2 separate regions of the Homo sapiens genome follow, and region 1 is linked to region 2. Evidence: promoter capture Hi-C in human tissues and cell types (Jung and others, 2019). All regions are on one chromosome and are shown on one strand. Each heading gives the region's core, a stretch centred on a gene start or on the middle of the fragment in contact. The rest is flanking DNA. Distances are from core to core; before and after follow the strand shown. Region 1 overlaps NARF (nuclear prelamin A recognition factor). Region 2 holds the start of UTS2R (urotensin 2 receptor).

Region 1 (2,700 bases), core at 24-2,523, 100 kb before region 2:
CGGATCACCTGAGGTCAGGAGTTTGAGACTGGCCTGGCCAACATGGTGCAACCCCGTCTCTACTAAAAATACAAAAATTAGCCGGGCATGGTGGCAAGTGCCTGTAATCCCAGCACTTTGGGAGACTGAGGCGGGCGATCACCTGAGGTCAGGAGTTTGAGACCAGCCTGACCAAAATGGTAAAACCCTGTCTCTACTACAGATACAAAAATTAGCTGGGCATGGTGGCATGCACCTGCAATCCCAACTTCTCAGGAGGCTGAGTTGGGAGAATCACTTGAACCTGGGGGATGGAGGTTGCAGTGGGCCAAGATCACACCAATGCACTCCAGCCTGGGTGACAGAGCGAGACTCTGTCTCAATAAATAAATAAATAAAATAAAAAATAAAAAAAAGTCTTGACCAGGATGGAGCTTATGTTGAGAAATAAAGTTTATACTTTTTATCTTTTAATTCTGTTCTTCCACAAACTTTTTGCAGTCTCCTTACATTTGTTGATTTCCTTATGAGAGGTCCTACTGGGATGGAACCTTCTCAAGTCACTGAAGGAACTAACTCTGCTGATGTGAATCCTGAGCAGATTGCTGATTTGTATAGAAACGGTGATCCCTCCGCCTGTGGCAGTGAACACAATGCTAGGTAGGGGCCCTGAGAGGTCTCTTCTCAGTGACGGCATTTCTGAGAAATGTGTCACCAAATCCTTTCTCTTCTCCAGCCACTGGCTGCAGGCCAGCCCCTTGCTTCCTATTTTAGCTTGAGATTTGCTGTATGTATGTAGTATATATGTATGATTGACAGGGTTGCTCTGTTACCCAGGCTGGAGTGCGGTGGTGCAATCACGGCTCACTGCAGCCTCGACCTCCTGGGTTCCAGTGAAGCTCCCACCTCAGCCTCCCGAGTAGCAGGGACTACAGGTGCCCGCCACACCTGGCTAATTTTTTGTATTTTTAGTAGAGACGGGGTTTCACCGTGTTAGCCAGGATGGTCTCAATCTCCTGACCTTGTGATCCGCCCACCTCGGCCTCCCAAAGTGCTGGGATTACAGGCGTGAGCCACTGCGCCCGGCCTAAATTTTTTATAATTTAAAAACCACTGCTCCAGGGGCATGGGCCTTAGTTCGTTGTCATTTTACACGGCCTCTTCCTTGGTTGGGGGTGGAACTAAGCAAGTGTGACTGGTGTTGTGAAGCCATGTTGTGTGTGGTATCATGTAACAGGGTCCCAAAAGGAAAGCACTCCTGCAAGGGGACCACAGAGGCAGGCTCAGGCTCAGCACACAAACACCAGGTACTCCCAGGTTGCTGGAGTCCAGGCAGCCCCAGAAACCATCAGGTGTGGAAATTATCCCTTTACACCTGGAAACACACCCAAAATGCCACAAGAGCTGAATGTAACACCCACAATCTAGTAAAAGGCTGTATCTGGCGTCAAATGGCTTATACTTCGACCTCTGATACAAAAATCTGTGAATCACTTACAGTAAGGCAAACCATACAGCTGAAAGAAGTCACTAACATCCCTGTCCCCATCTGGAGCTGAGATCACAGCAGGCTGTGGGTTGCTGGTGAACGATACAGCTCAAATAACGAGCCAACCAATGCAGCCCATGGAACAGATGGTAAATTTCCTCTTTATATTTTATAAATGGCTAGAGAGTAAGTCCGTATTCTAAGCAACCACGATGTCAATGTTCCATCTTATTAATTCATAATCCTAATGACTAAAGGTTGACATGTAAAATGCCAGAAAAATTTGAAACCATTGTAGGGGGAGCATAAATTAAGAACTGAAACGTGAACCAAACCCTAAAAATTATACAGCCTACGACTAGCTTAGATAGAGCTCTCCTATGCTCCCACAGGCCTCATGTAGTAGAATAATTTTTAACTAGTGTTGTTTGCCAGGATAGCCATTCCTTCCTTATTCCCTTATGCATCATCGAAGATTTCTTAACCCAAACTCTCTATTTTTCCAGAATTGAAAAGCATGTGACAAATCTCTTCTATAACTCAGGCATCCAAAAACCAATTAAAGAGTGGTTTAAACAGTGCGCCCTGAGAGTATCTGAATATCAATGTAAAGAAATTTTCTTATTCTGTATTTTTTTTAAGCTGGCAAAAGATACATGCACGTTTGCCATATTATTCCATAATTATTTGTACATCTGAGATATGTTGTACTTTCAAGAGAAAACGGATTTTCTTAAGAGACAGGACCTCAGTCTTTCGCCCAGGCTGGAGTACAATGGAGGAGTCATAGCTCACTGCAGCCTCTAACTCCTTGGCTCAAACACCTCAGGCTAGGATTCGTAGTAGCTGTGATTACAGGTACTTGCCACCACCCCTGGCTTTTTTTTGTTTTTTTTTGCAGAGACGAGGTCTCACTATGTTGACGAGACTGGTCCCACACTCCTGGGCTAAAGCAATCCTCCCACATCAGCCTTCTAAATTGTTGGGATTATGGCTGTGAGCCACCATGCCTGGCCTATTTTTCTTTTCCTTTTAAAAAATATTTATTTAAAAAATTAGAGGACGGGTGTGGTGGCTCATGTCTGTAATCCCAGCACTTTGGGAGGCCAAGGCGGGCAGATCACTTGAGGTCAGGATTTCAAGACCAGCCTGGGCAACATGGCGAAACCCCATCTCTACTAAAAATACAAAAATTAGCCAGGCGTGGTGGCGCTAGCCTGTAATCCCAGCTA
Region 2 (2,700 bases), core at 72-2,571:
ACCCATTTGAAAAAAAGAGACCAAAACCGTGACCGGGGACTTCCTGAAAAGGACACCCACGCAGCCAACAAGCAGGGAAATGCCAGTCAGGGCCACAGGAGCCCCTGCGTGCTGACAAGGATGAACGCGTGAAAAGGCAGATATCCTTGTCAACAGGCGTGGGGGCTGTGGAGGAGCTGGCCCTGCCGTTTCCTGTTGCTGGGAACCTGGACTGTGCCGCCGCTTTGGAAAGCCATTGGCACGATTTGCAGAGTTGACCGCCTATACCTTCTCACCCGGCAATTCTACTCTCAGGTTAGTACCTTAGATAAAGGGCTGCCAACGTTCAGAAAATGACAAGCGTGCGAAAGTTCACGGCAGCTTGACTCCTAAGAAGCTGGAAACAGCTCAAATGTCCCCAGTGGACGGGGCAGGCAAACTGTGACATGAAGCCAGTGAAGGAGTCGCCGCTGGGGTCAGCAGCCTGGATGAAACAGCGCGGTGGTGGGCTGAAGAAACAAGACACAGGAGGCTGCCTGATTCCACGAGCCACGCTGAATTTAGGCCGAACACTCATGGCTGCGCAGGGAGCAGTCTTGGCTGGGGTGGGGAGTTGTCAACAGGTGGGGGCGCTGGGGGCCTTCCAGGGCCTGGAAATGTGCCCTGTCCGCCCTTTCCCACCAGGCCGAGCAGCTCCCAGCTCCATCTGTCCAGGGGACCCTCACCCCCTTGCTGCCCCCACCCAGGGCATTTCCAGAGCCCTCACCCAGGGGACGGCGCAGAAGCCGAGGGTGCACCGGGCTCCCCAGTTGTGCGCGAGCCCGAGTCACGGGCAGGGGGACAGCGGCCGCCGGGCCGCTAGGATTGCTCCAGGGTCGCTAGGGGGGAAGGGGAGGGGCCGAAAGTTCCACGGCACGGGAGAAGCCGCCTCGCTGGACCCCGCTCCCCTCGCCCAGGGTGGGTTCCCACCGCGAAACCCCGGCCCAGCCCTGCGGAGGGCCCCGAAGGGCACAGACCCGGCAGTCCCCGCGCGCTCCCGGTCACCCACCGAGGACCCACCTGCCTCCGGTCACTGAGCGGCCAGACCTGCCCGCCGAGCCTGGGGTCGCGCGTGGGGGCAGCCGCTCGCGGCTCCAAACTCCTCGCGCAGCGGGGCCGCGGGGAACTTTCCGAGGCGCGCTCCCCTGTCCCAGCGCAGAGGGGGCGCGAGGGGCTCCGCGGTGGCCTCGGCTTCCAGAGCACACGGCAGGGGCGCCCGCCAGTCCCGCCACCAAAGCCGCGCCCCCCGCCCCGCGCCGGGTCTCTGCGCCGCCGCCACCTGCCCGCCGCCAGCTGGGAATGCGCCGCGCCCCGCGCCAGGGCCCGGTATTAAAATAACCCCAGCGGGCAGCAGGCGCGCGGAGGGGACGGCGCCGGGTGTCTAGGGGGCGGCGCTGACCGCGCGGCGCCGGGAAGACGCGGGGGTCGCGGGGCCGCAGCGGGGTCGGCGGAGGGTCCCAGGCGGGTCTCGCGTCTGCGTCTGCGGAGCGAAGCTGCCTCCAGCCCGGCTGCCCCAAGGCTGACCCCGCAGCCCCTCTTGGGTTCTCCGCCTCCAGCGTTCACCCCTGCGCCCCTCACGCCCGTGTTTGCAGGGCACGGAGCCTGGGATTCTCCGTGTCCACCAAGCCCTGGACCCGCCCGCGCGCAGGTGGGGGGCAGGAACACCCCTAAACCCCGAGAGGGTCATAGAAAGGAGGTAAGGGAGGGAGGGAGTCACCCGCCCAGGCGGGGACGGGCTCTTTGGGGGCCTTGACCCCGCCCCTGTTGCGGGTCTCCCACAGATGCTCTTAGAAGCCCACGCAGCCTCTCCAGGCCTCGGCAGGGACTCGTGGTGGCCACATCCACGGAAGTGACGCTGGGAGCTGCAGGGCCCCGCGGGGTAGGAGGAAGGACCCCACAGCCTCACCCTCGAGCCCCTGAGCTGGGTGCTGGCCCCCACTCGGTTTCACTTGCTGCTCGGAGGTAGGATGTGGGCCTTCACTCATGCTGAACCCCTGAAAGAAAAAGACACAGAACATTAATAAATTAGACTAGAGGAGAGCTGGAGAGCTGTGAACACGGGGTCTAAAGGGCCCCCAGCGAGGAGCTGGCCTCGCCCACTCCACTCCGCCCGGGGCTCATCTGCTGCCTGAGGCCGCGGACCGGCCCCTAAAGCTGAAGGGGTTCTGCTGGGGGAGAGGAGGTGGCCAAGTGTGAATGGCCGAGAGGCTCCTGCAATCAGCTGGATCCGGGGGAGCCCCAGATGCCCACCAGTCCCCTCCGTGGGACGTTTGCCACGTGCTGGGGAGGCGAGGCTGGGCTGGAGAGGGCGGGAAAAGTCCCTCTGGTCTCCGAGCGTCCGCTGGACGGAGCAAGGGTCACACAATAAGACAGTTCATTCTCTGTGAGCTGAAAACAGCCGAACTGAAACCAAATACAGCTGCAGCTTCCGACCCGAAAGGGGAGCAGCTCATCCTGCCTGTGCGCGGGAGGAAAGGGGGTGGAAGGCTGCCTCCGACGTGATGGTTCTGTGAGAGCTGATTACTAAGCTGGAGTCTAGGGGCTAGGGCTGGGGAAAAGCACTCAGGACCCAGAATGCCTGCTCCAAGAATTAAATTTCCCGCAAGCCAGCTGCCGAAACGATCTGCTGTCACCTCAGCCAGTTCACCGAGTAGCTGCTGAAACGACCTGCCCTGACACGAA

Evidence for each region. The method cuts DNA at HindIII sites, captures the fragments that hold promoters and counts their contacts. A contact is called where the count stands out against the background at its distance.
Region 1: a contact is called between a fragment that was not itself captured here and the fragment with the promoter of UTS2R in region 2, in 2 of the 25 tissues and cell types used here (pancreas and spleen).

The regions. Positions count from the first base shown.
Region 1 is chr17:82,473,686-82,476,385 of GRCh38, reverse strand. The region is part of intron 5 of NARF (nuclear prelamin A recognition factor); the gene reads right to left. Among named protein-coding and RNA genes, the nearest start is that of NARF, 16 kb to the right of the region's middle. The HindIII fragment of the contact is 9,427 bases long and covers 1-2,700 here.
Region 2 is chr17:82,370,386-82,373,085 of GRCh38, reverse strand. It overlaps UTS2R (urotensin 2 receptor), which reads right to left and starts at 1,321. Exons shown (of 3, transcript NM_018949.3): 1 at 1,039-1,321; 2 at 303-488. The HindIII fragment of the contact is 34,629 bases long and covers 1-2,700 here.